Linked DNA regions of Homo sapiens: regions 1 and 2 are each linked to region 3. Evidence: promoter capture Hi-C in 16 types of primary human blood cells and fetal thymus (Javierre and others, 2016). All regions are on one chromosome and are shown on one strand. Each heading gives the region's core, a stretch centred on a gene start or on the middle of the fragment in contact. The rest is flanking DNA. Distances are from core to core; before and after follow the strand shown. Region 1 overlaps NFILZ (NFIL3 like basic leucine zipper). Region 2 overlaps ADAMTS10 (ADAM metallopeptidase with thrombospondin type 1 motif 10). Region 3 holds the start of RAB11B (RAB11B, member RAS oncogene family).

Region 1 (3,663 bases), core at 772-3,271, 250 kb before region 3:
ATGAATGAATCCACACTGAAAGAGGAAACGGGCAGGAGAGAAGTTGGGCAATTCGCCCAAGGCCCCACAGTCCTTAAGTGGCAGAAGCAAGACGGGAGCCCCCACAGTTCAACTGCACAGGCTTCCTAACCACTGTGTGAGGTTTTCCCCCAGGCACATCCCTTTGCACGCCCACAAATGCACACAGCGGCTAACGCACGTGCACACTCATGAACGCACGTGTAAATTCCACCACCAACAGGATAAGTGTGCGCACTTCTAGCATCACACAGCATAGCGTGTGACGCCTGGCTTAGCGTTTACCGCGGAATGGCAATGAGTTCGTTGTAGAATCTAGGGGTGAGTGTGCCTGTGCCCAATTCTTTCCATTTTTCTGTGTGTTGGAAAGAGTTTCTAATGTTGAGAAAATTTGACTTCCCATAGCATCTACTGATCTTTGCTCTATTAAGGTGGCCTGGCAAGGTCATGCTGGCACTAACCTGTGTTGGGGAAAGGTCTATGAAGTCCTTCTCTGTTCTACAAGAGCAAGGGGACTATGTGGAGGCTTTTTGTTTTTCTTTTTCTGTTCTTTTCTTTTTTTTTTTTTTTTTTTTTTGAGACCATCTTTAGTCTTGCTCTTGTCGCCCAGGCTGTAGTACAGTGGCGCAATCTCAGCTCACTGCAATCTCCGCCTCCCTGGTTCAGGTGATTCTCCTGCCTCAGCCTCCCAAGTAGCTGAGATTACAGGCATCTGCCACCATGCCTGGCTAATTTTTTGTATTTTAGTAGAGATGGAGTTTCACTATGTTGGTCAGGCTGGTCTCAAACTCCTGACCTCAGGTGATCCACATGCCTCAGCCTCCCAAAGTGCTGGAATTACAGGCGTGAGCCACTGCACTCGGCCTTTTTTTTTTTTGAGATGGAGTCTCACTCTGTCGCCTAGGCTGGAGAGCAGTGGTGCAATCTCGGGTCACTGCAACCTCCACCTCCCCAGTTCAAGCTATTCTCCTGCCTCAGCCTCCCAAGTAGCTGGGACTACAAGTATGCACCGCCATTCCCTGCTAATTTTTGTATTTTTAGTAGAGAAGGGGCTTCACCATGTTGGTCAGGCTGGTCTCGAACTCCTGACCTCAGGAGTTGCTGAGTTCTATGGTAACTTTGTGTTTAAGGTTTTGTTTTGGTTTGGTTTTGGTTTTTTTTCTATTGCCCAGGCTGGAGTGCAGTGGTGTGATCTCAGCTCACTACAATCTCTGCCTCCTGGATTCAAGTGACTCTCCTGCTTCAGCCTTCTGAGAGCTGAGATTATATGTGTGCGTCATCACACCCGGCTGGAGTGCACAGTCCTAGCTCACTGCAGCCTCGAACTCCTGGGCTCAAGTGATCCTTCTGCCTTGGCCTCTTAAAGTACTGGGACTACAGGTATGAGCCACCACATTCAGCCTTGCCCATTTTTTTAAAAACTAGGCAAGGATTTGGTTAGAATGAAGATTCTGGCCTCCCCTCCAGGCACCCTGTCCTATACCTCACCTGATTCGCACTTCTATATCTTCCCCTTGGCCCCAGCTCTATCCCTGACTGTCCCCCTCCAGTATCCAGGGGACCAGTGTCCTGTCTCTCCATACAAAAGCCTCCATATAGGCCAGGCGCAATGGCTAATGCCTGTAATCCCAAAACTTTGGGAGGCCAAGGTGGGCGGATCACTTGTGGTCAGGAGTTCGAGGCCAGCCTGGGCAAAAGGGTGAAACCTCACCTCTATTAAAAATACAAAAATTAGCCAAGCATGGTGGCTCACGCCTGTAATCCCAGCACTTTGGGAGGCCAAGGCAAGCTGATCACCTGAGGTCGGGAGTTCAAGGCCAGCCTCACCAACATGGTGAAACCCCGTCTCTACTAAAAATAAAAATTAAAAAAAAAAACATAGCTGGGCATGATGGTGCATGCCTGTAATCCTAGCTACTCAGGAGGCTAAGGGAGGAGAATTGCTTGAACCCAGGAGGCAGAGGTTGCGGTGAGCCGAGATGGCGCCATTGAACTCCAGCCTGGGCGACAGAGCAAGACTCTGTTTCAAAAAAAAAAAAAAAAAGATGGAGTCTCGCTGTGTTGCCCAGGCTGGAGTGCAATGGCGCAATCTCGGCTCACTGCAACCTCCGCCTCCCAGGTTCAAGCATTTCTCCTGCCTCAGCCTCCCAAGTAGCTGGGACTACAGGCGTGTGCCACCATGCCCAGTTAATTTTTGTATTTTTAGTAGAGACGGGGTTTCACCATGTTGGTCAGGCTGGTCTCGAACTCCTGACCCCGTGATTCACCCGCCTCGGCCTCCCAAAGTGCTGAGATTACAGGCATGAGCCACCGCGCCCAGCCGAAAATAAAATTTTTTTAAAAGGCTGGTTTTGGCTGGGTGTGGTGGCTCATGCCTGTAATACCAGTACTTTGGGAGGATGAGCCGGGTAGAACACTTGAGGCCAGGAGTTCAACACCAGCCTGGGCAATACGGTGAAACCCCCTCTCTACTAAAAATACAAAAATCAGCTGGGTGTGGTGGTGCGCACCTGTAATTCCAGCTACTCTGGAGGCTGAGACAGGAAAATAGCTTGAGCCCAGGAGGCAGAGGTGGCAATGAGCCAAGACTGCACCATTGCACTCCAGTTTGGGTGACAGAGCAAGACCCTGTCTAATAAATAAAAATAAATAAACAAATAAATAAAGAGAGAAAGAGAAAGTCAGAGACAGAGAGAGAGAATAAGGACTCATAGGTATTCACCGTAGAGAAATGGAAACTTACCCTCACACCAAAACTTGCACATCAACGTCTGGCACATTATTTATCATCGCCTATGAATTTGGGCATTCGTCACCAAAACTGGAAACAACTCACGTGTCTGTCAACAAATGAATGGATGCATGGTGACACATCCATACCAGGGACTCCTCAACAGTAAAAGAAACAAAAAATGCTACACCCAACAACGTGAATAAGCCTCAAATGCATTCTGCTGCCTGGAAGAAGTATGCGCCAAAAGCTGCCTATGGTACGATTCCATTGACATAATATCCTGGGAAAAGGCAGAAATATAGCAACAGAGAGGAAGTCAGCAGGGGCCAGGGGCTGGGACTGAGGGAGAGAAATTGACTCCAGAGGGGCACGCAGGAATTGCAGGAATTGGGAGGGAAAAAGGTATTCTGTATTTCTTTTTTTTTTTTTTTAATTTTTTTTTTTTTGAGATGGAGTCTTGCTCTGTTGCCCAGGCTGAGGTGCAGTGGTATGATCTCGGCTCACTGCAACCTCCGCCTCCCAGGTTCAAGCGATTCTCCTGCCTCAGCCTCCTGAGTAGCTGGGATTACAGGTGCCCACCACCATGCCCGGCTAATTTTTGTATTTTTAGTAGAGACAGAGAGTCACTATGTTGGCCAGGCTGGTCTTGAACTCCTGACCTCAAGTGATCCACCCGCCTCAGCCTCCCAAAGTGCTAGGATTACAAGTGTGAGCCACCAGGCCTGGCCGGTATTCTGTATTTCTATTGAGGTTGTGGTTATAGGGTTGTGTGGTTTGTCAAATATCACAGAATCGTATACTAATATGTATGGGTTTCACTGTCAGTAAATTACACTGGTTTTTTTGTTTTTTTGTTTGTTTGTTTGTTTGTTTGTTTGTTTGTTTGTTTGTGATAGGGTCTTGGCTAAAGT
Region 2 (3,777 bases), core at 217-2,716, 200 kb before region 3:
TAGTTCAGCCCATCCAGGATTCAGACGGGAAGAAGGTGGGGCTGATTTTTCACCTGGAGAAAGAGAGGCATGTCCCACACAGACCTAACTCGGCATTGTCCCCTCCCAAACTCCCACCCCTCCACATAGCTTAAAAGTGTTGGGGGCTTCTCCAGTTTAGATGGGGGAACAAAGAGAACCAACAGCTGGAAAAAACTAGAGATGAGGCCGTTGGCCTAGTCATCATCCAGGCCGATTTCTCAGAACCACCACTTTCTCTTCGGCTACTTTGCCCATCCCATAAAAGAACCCCAAATCCTTCCTGTTCATTCCTCAGCAGTTCCCACGTTTCCTTCCAGAAACTCAGAAGGCACCAGGAACTGAATTGCAAAGTTCGTTAGAGCACAGACTCTGAATTAAAGAGCTGGGTTAAACTCCAGGCTATTCCCTTAGTAGCTGTGTGACCTTACCTGTCTGAAGCTTGGTTTTCTCCCAGTAAGATGGGGTAGTACTGCCTAAAGAGGTATATGGCATGTATAAAGTGCTCCATAAATGGAGCTTATTGGGAGAGTATAAGTCACAGGCCATGCCCCGCAAGGGGATGCACGAAGACCCACCGCGAGCCAGGAAGGGAGCACCGGGCTCTCTGCTCTGGGACCGGCAGTGAGCCGGACATCTGGGTCCTCCCAAGCCGGGCGGGCTGCCCCAGGGAGGAAGGGAGGGGGGCGAGCCTGAGCGGGCACCTCGGCCCGCAGGAGGTCTGCAGCGAGCTGTGGTGTCTGAGCAAGAGCAACCGGTGCATCACCAACAGCATCCCGGCCGCCGAGGGCACGCTGTGCCAGACGCACACCATCGACAAGGGGGTGAGCGCCGGCCAGGGCCCCCAACTGGGCCACGCCCCCTGAGCCACCTCCCGCGTTGGCCACGCCTACCCGCCTGTCCTTCGGCCTATTATCTGCTCCCTCCCACATTGGCCACGCCCGCCATTTGTGCTCCCTCGGCTGTGGCCACGCCTACTGCTTGCTCCTTCCCGCGTTGGCCACGCCCACCGTCTATGCGTCCCTTGGTTCTGGCCACGCCTACTGTTTAACTCCCTCCCGCGTTGGCCACGCCCACCGTGTAATGATTCCCACGGCTCTGGCCACGCCTACTGTTTGCTCTCTCCCTCATTGGCCACGCCCATCCCCTGTGCTGCCCTCGGCTCTGGCCACGCCTACTGCCTGTAGACCTCCCCTCCCCAGCCTGAAGCCACGCCCCACCTCGTCTCCACGCTTATCGTGGTCCTGTCTACACCCCTCCCCGTTAAGCACCCTGTGCTCAGGCCACGCCTCTCGCTTGTACCTGGTCTGTCTCCCAGACCACTCTCCTACGTAACCTGACTCTGTTCGCATGTTCAGACCCCGCCTCTGCCCATCCCGGAGAGGCTGATATCTCTGGCTGGGGCCTGGAGTGGGGAACGGTGCATGGGGCCGACGAGTGTCCTCCGGGCTGGACTCACTCCTTCCTGTCTCCCCCCACCCAGTGGTGCTACAAACGGGTCTGTGTCCCCTTTGGGTCGCGCCCAGAGGGTGTGGACGGAGCCTGGGGGCCGTGGACTCCATGGGGCGACTGCAGCCGGACCTGTGGCGGCGGCGTGTCCTCTTCTAGCCGTCACTGCGACAGCCCCAGGTCAGCCCTCAGGACCCCCACCCGGGAGGGCAGCGCGACCCCTGCCCCCATCGCCCACTGCCTCATCCCTCTCCTATCCCACCACCCTTTCCAGGCCAACCATCGGGGGCAAGTACTGTCTGGGTGAGAGAAGGCGGCACCGCTCCTGCAACACGGATGTGAGTTCCCCCAAACCCCTTGAGGGGTGGGGGGAGGAAGCATTAAAAACAGCTATCAGAGGCCGGGCACCGTGGCTCACGCCTGTAATCCCAACACTTTGGGAGGCCAAGGCAGGCGGATCACGAGGTCAGGAGATCGAGACCATCCTGGCTAACATAGTGAAACCCCGTCTCTACTAAAAATACAAAAATTAGCTGGGCGTGGTGGCAGGCGCCTGTAATCCCAGCTACTCGGGAGGCTGAGGCAGGAGAATCGCTTGAACCCGGGAGGCGGAGGCTGCAGTGAGCCGAGATCGCACCACTGCACTCCAGCCTGGGTGACAGAGCGAAACTCCATCTCAAAAAAAAAAAAAAAAACAAAAACGCTATCAGAGTGCTTCATCCAGGCACCTGCTGCCTCCTGGGGAACCTGCAGCCGCCACCCCTCTCTTCCCTCCTCTCCCTGACCCCCACCACCTTCTCGTCCCCAACCCCTCCTCCTTAAAGACCTGGCTCCTTCCAGCTCTCTTTTCCTCCTACATTTAGACTACAAGCCCCCACCTTGAAATCACTGCTTGGCCCTCACAACCCCCTACCATCCAGTCTCTCCCCTCCCTTTACAGCCCAACTTCCCCTGAAGAGTCCTACCCCTGCCTTCTGTCATCCCCCAAAGTTGTAGCTGAAGCTTCCTCTCACCAAACCCAGTGACAGGTGTCTGTCCTCTGCTTGTGCCCTCAGCTGACCTGCAACCATCAGTGAGCAGTGAGAAGTTTACTGGGGAGGGGGTGTTTTAGAGGGCAGTGAGAGCTTTGGACTTTTCAGCCTCCCAGCTGGGGGGAACCAGGTCTTCAGAGAATCCACATGCTAGCACTTTCTATAAACCCTGATCCCTTCCAGACCTTCTCTCTCAAGAAAGACTCCATGTGGCCAGGTGCAGTGGCTCACACCTATAATCCCAGCACTTTGGGAGGCTGAGGCAGGCAGATCACCTGAGGTCAGGAGTTCGAGACCATCCTGGCCAACATGGCAAAACCCCATCTCTACTAAAAATACAAAAATTAGGCCGGATGAGGTGGCTCATGCCTGCAATCCCAGCACTTTGGGAGGCCGAGGCGGGTCAATCACCTGAGGTCAGGAGTTCGAGACCAGCCTGGCTAACATGGTGAAACCCCGTCTCTACTAAAAATACAAAAAATTAGCCAGGCGTGGTGGCACGCGCCTGTAGTCCCAGCTACTTGGGAGGCTGAGGCAGGAGAATCACTTGAATCCAGGAAGCGGAGGTTGCAGTGAGCCGAGATTGTGTCACTGCACTCCAACTAGGGCAACGAGAGCGAAACTCTGTCTAAAAATAAATAAATAAATAAATAAATAATGCAAAAATTAGCCAGGCATAGTGGCATGCACCTGTAATCCCAGCTACTCGGGAGGCTGAGGCAGAAGAATTGCTTGAACCCAGGAGATGGAGGTTGCAATGAGCTAAGATCATGCACTGTACCCCAGCCTGGGCGACAGAGTGAGATTCTGTCTCAAAAAAGAAAAAAAATGCAAGCAAGCAAGAAAGATTCCATAGCCTGGAACCAGAAACCCAGGTGTGTCCTGCCCAGCTCACCCTCAGACCTCTAATGAGGGATCCAGTCCTATCCCAGATGTGTCTACACGCCCAGCCCAGGCTACCTTCCAGGCCTAGTCTCACGCAGACCACCACAGCCTCCTCCCTGGCCTCCCTGCCTCTAGCCTCCCTCCTCCAGCCCATCTTTCTCTGAGCACCCCTTTTCTGACTCCATCCCCCCAAGCCTGGCCTCCCTCCATCTCTCCTCTCCTGCCCCCAGGACTGTCCCCCTGGCTCCCAGGACTTCAGAGAAGTGCAGTGTTCTGAATTTGACAGCATCCCTTTCCGTGGGAAATTCTACAAGTGGAAAACGTACCGGGGAGGTGAGTGTGGGACTCCAAAGGCTGTGGGGCCGTGAAGGGCAGCCGTGGGAGTGTCCAGCAG
Region 3 (3,834 bases), core at 1,096-3,595:
AAAAAAAAAAAAAAAAAAAGAAAAGAAAAAGGAAAAGAAAAATATTGAAAGAGAATAGAGGAGGTCCTCTGATGAGGCACAGCTGTGAAGGTGAGACGGCAGATGACCAGTTTGGGAAAAGCTGAACTTGTGGGTTAGATTTTTGCTACCAACTAGCTTGAGAAGGTCAGCAGGGCACCTGCTAGACTCAGTAAAAGGAGGCCAGTGTGGGGAGGGCAGCAGGGCAGGCACCGCCCCCCCCCACCCCACACCGCCTGCCCGCCAAATGCCAGATGCCGCAGAAGCTAAATCAGTGTTTCCAGGAAGCAGTCTCTGCAGACAAGTCCCGGGAACCACACAGCCTCTCCATTGCTCCTGACCCAGTAACTGTTCTGCTGGGAACGCACTTCAAGGAAATAATCTAAAGGGCAAAACCATGACTTGAGCAAGCACTCGGAGCTGGGTCATTTAACACAGCAAAAGGGCAAAAATAACAAGCAGGGGATAACCACAGAAACCTGGATGGGGCATGTGGGGAGCAACACCCCTGCCCTGGCAGTGCCACGTCTGGGTGGGTGCCCAGCCAGGACCTGGGAGCAGCTGCCTCACGGTGGGCTGAGTGGAGATGGCACCCGATCAGCAGGACCCAAAGTTTAGTCCCCCTGTCTCCAGACGGCCCCTTAGAATCCCAGTCTCCAAAACCCTTCCAAAGCTTCCTCCTGCCACGAGGGGCGAGACCTTGGGCCGGGCACCTGCTGACCACAGAGCCTCACCCACCAGTGACATTATCAACCTGTGTGCAGCTGCCAGAGCCCTCAGTGCCACAGGACGACTCTAGGCCCTTGTAGAGGCACTTCCTCTCCCTCCCCCCGGAAGGCTTTCGCCACACGGACAGCCCAGGTGGGGAGACCTCTGCCTCATTCCCCACAATCAGAAGACGCTGGATGAGACCAGACACAAGGCCCAGCTAGGCCTGGTGCAAGCCACAGAGCACACTCGGAGGAACGGCTCAGCGAGGTGAGGATACCAACAGCTGATGTGCGACGCAGGCCCTCATAGAGCAGGCCGCAGGGTGAAGGCACCTTGGATCCAGGGGTTAGCCCTCAAGGGCTGCCATTGTCAGCCAGGGAGCCCAGCAACCAGGGCAGACCACTAGGCCAAAGTGTAGCTGGGCACAGAAGGCTCAGCTGAGAAACAAGGGACTCCGGCTTCCTCCAGCTGTCCCTAAATGGGCAATGGCTGCCTGATCTACCTAGGCCTTATGTGATGCTCCTAGAGCCCCCTCAGTCCCTCGGGCGGGGAAGACCCTCCAGCAGGCTGGCTGGGGCCCCGGCCATCAGTGCGCACGTGTTGGAAGAAGTTGGTCCAACAACCCAAAGTCCCAGATGCTGGCCACAAGCCCCCTAAGACACGCTTCCTAAGTGGTAAGGCCTACAGGTGGCCTGGGCTCAATCGGGTTCCAACACTTATAAACTGTGTCTTTGTCACTCTGGGCCTCAGTTTCCCAACGTGTAAAAAGAGAGGCTGGTTAGTATCAACCTCAAAGGGCTGCAGTGAGGATTTTAGTTAATTCGGGTAAAGTGCTCAGAAAAGTGCAAGTACTGGCTTAGCACTGTTGAGAGTTCTGAGTGAAGAGATGGAATTCTTGCTGCACACACGGGTGCCTTTCCACTCAATCCCAGCTTTGCACCCCAATCCAAGGCTCCCACCACCACACACCTCACCCCCAGGCCCTCATCTCGGCCCAGCCCCCATTGCCTGCCCCGCCTCTCCCGGGCCCCACCCCCAAACACGCTGCCCCAATCAGGACAAGCCTCGTGAGAGCCCCGCCTCCGTTTGCCCAGGCCCAACCCACCTATTGGTCACGCCCATCACGCCTTAGCCCCGCCCCTAAAAACCCCGCCCCCATCCCGAATCACGCTTTCAGCCCAGCCCGGCCCGCCAAATCTTGGGAAAGCTCCACCCCCTGCGGAGGCCCCGCCCTAACAGCCTCTCCCACCGCTCCGGGCCCCACCCCCTCTAGGCTCTGGCCCCGCCCCGGCGCGTCCTAGGTCCCCCAGGTCTCTCCGGGCCTCCGGCTCCGTATAGCCGCGCATCCTAGCCCGAAGCTGATGCTGCCCGGTCGGCTCCGGCCTTCCCGGCTGCCTGACCCGCCGGGCCCCAAGCCCCGGGCTCCGGCCTGGGCCCAGCGGCCTGGAGCGCGGCCTTGGCCCGTCTGCCCGCCGCCTCGCCGCCACGACTTCGCCCGTCTGTGCCCCACCGGCCGCACCTTTGAATAGGTAGTCGTACTCGTCGTCCCGGGTCCCCATTGTCCTGGCGCTTCCGGCGGGATCGGCGACTCCGCAGCCCCACCACAAACACCCGACGGGGGCGGAGCCGGCGCCGCGCAGAGCGGCGGTTGAATGGCCTATCAGCGGCGAGTGGAGTAGCGACGGGCACCCAGCGAAGCCAATCAGAGATGGAAGTAGTGCTCTGAGGGTGGGCGCCGCTTGGTACCACCCTCCTCGCCCTCGGTGTCCTGGAGAAAGGCGGAAGGAATGCGGACCTTTTTGAAGTGACGGACGCGCCAGCCTATCAGGGGCGAGCTCAAGAGGGCGGGGCGGAAGACTGCAGGAATGAAATGGATTGACAGACCAAATAACTAATGAGAGGCTTGATTGAGAACCTACCCGACTATCAGAGGACCTGTCCGGGAAGAGAAATGGGGCTACGTCCAGGTAATGCTACGATGCTTAACGTCCCGATGACGTCATAGGTCAGCGCGCGCTGCCCTGGTCGCCCCCCAAGCCCATAAATGACCATTTCCGGGGACCTCAGCGCTGGGTCCCCTTTCTCGGTTGCAGTCTCCATCTCTATATTGGGACTCACTGGGTTATCCTTCTGTGCCTCAGTTTCCTCCTCTGTAAACTGAAGAAACCCGTCTCATGGAATCTTTTGAAAATAACCAGATCAGCCAGGCGCGGTGGCTCACGCCTGTAATTCCAGGACTTTGGGAGGCCGAGGCTGGCGGATCACGAGGTCAGGAGTTCGAGACCAGCCTGACCAACATGGTGAAACCCCGTTTCTACTAAAAATACAAAAATTAGTCGGGCGTGGTCGCTGGTGCCTGTAAACCCAGCTACTCAGGAGGTTGAGGCAGGAGAATCGCTTGAACCTGGGAGGTGGAGGTTGCAGTGAGCCGAGATTGCACCAAGTGTGAATCAACCGTCCACTTTCTGCTATTCTTTGTTAAATAAATACTTTTAAATCCTTACTGGATACCAATGCTCTCCAACAGGACCTCCTACCACTACCCCTCTTTTGTCCTATATTTTGCCACATAGGTAAAATATAAAAATAGGTAATATAGAAAATAAAACACATACTGCTGTATTGTCAGGTAGTGATAGGATTTATCACTACCTGACAATACAGTATGTGTTTGTTTTATATATTTAGGGTGTACAGCGTGTGTTTTGATACACATGTACCCAGTGAAATAATAATTATGACAGTTTTTTTTTTTTTTTTTGAGACGGAGTTTTGCTGTCGTTGCCCAGGCTGAAGTGCAATGGTGTGCTCTCGGCTCACTGCAGCCTCTGCCTCCCGGGTTCAAGCGATTCTCATGCCTCAGCCTCCCGAATAGCTGGGATTACAGGCATGCACCACCATGCTTGGCTAATTTTTTTGTATTTTTAGTAGAGACGGGGTTTCTCCATGTTGGTCAGGCTGATCTCGAACTCCTGACCTCAGGTGATTCGCCCACCTTGGCCTCCCAAAGTGCTGGGATTACAGGCATTTTCACCACACATGGCCAATTATGAGAGTTAAGCAATTAACCTATCCATTGCCTTCCATAATTAACTGTGTGTGTAG

What was found. The method cuts DNA at HindIII sites, captures the fragments that hold promoters and counts their contacts. A CHiCAGO score of 5 or more calls a contact.
Region 1: a contact is called between a fragment that was not itself captured here and the fragment with the promoter of RAB11B in region 3, in 1 of 17 cell types (neutrophils). The highest score is 6.4, in neutrophils.
Region 2: a contact is called between a fragment that was not itself captured here and the fragment with the promoter of RAB11B in region 3, in 4 of 17 cell types (non-activated CD4 T cells, naive CD4 T cells, fetal thymus and 1 more). The highest score is 6.5, in non-activated CD4 T cells.

Annotation. Positions count from the first base shown.
Region 1 is chr19:8,634,845-8,638,507 of GRCh38, reverse strand. NFILZ (NFIL3 like basic leucine zipper) reads right to left here. Exons shown (of 6, transcript NM_001378600.1): 3 at 2,762-2,858. Among named protein-coding and RNA genes, the nearest start is that of NFILZ, 6.0 kb to the right of the region's middle. The HindIII fragment of the contact is 6,295 bases long and covers 1-3,663 here.
Region 2 is chr19:8,589,828-8,593,604 of GRCh38, reverse strand. It overlaps ADAMTS10 (ADAM metallopeptidase with thrombospondin type 1 motif 10), which reads left to right. Exons shown (of 26, transcript NM_030957.4): 13 at 735-842; 14 at 1,502-1,647; 15 at 1,742-1,805; 16 at 3,614-3,716. Among named protein-coding and RNA genes, the nearest start is that of MYO1F, 14 kb to the right of the region's middle. RefSeq lists an enhancer at 1,206-1,804. The HindIII fragment of the contact is 2,010 bases long and covers 462-2,471 here.
Region 3 is chr19:8,388,871-8,392,704 of GRCh38, reverse strand. It overlaps RAB11B (RAB11B, member RAS oncogene family), which reads right to left and starts at 2,345. Exons shown (of 5, transcript NM_004218.4): 1 at 2,249-2,345. The coding sequence starts at 2,288. It overlaps RAB11B-AS1 (RAB11B antisense RNA 1), which reads left to right and starts at 2,014. Exons shown (of 3, transcript NR_038237.1): 1 at 2,014-2,696. It overlaps MIR4999 (microRNA 4999), which reads left to right and starts at 3,325; the gene lies at 3,325-3,415. RefSeq lists silencers at 1,953-2,212, 2,432-2,713 and an enhancer at 2,483-2,682. The HindIII fragment of the contact is 8,866 bases long and covers 694-3,834 here.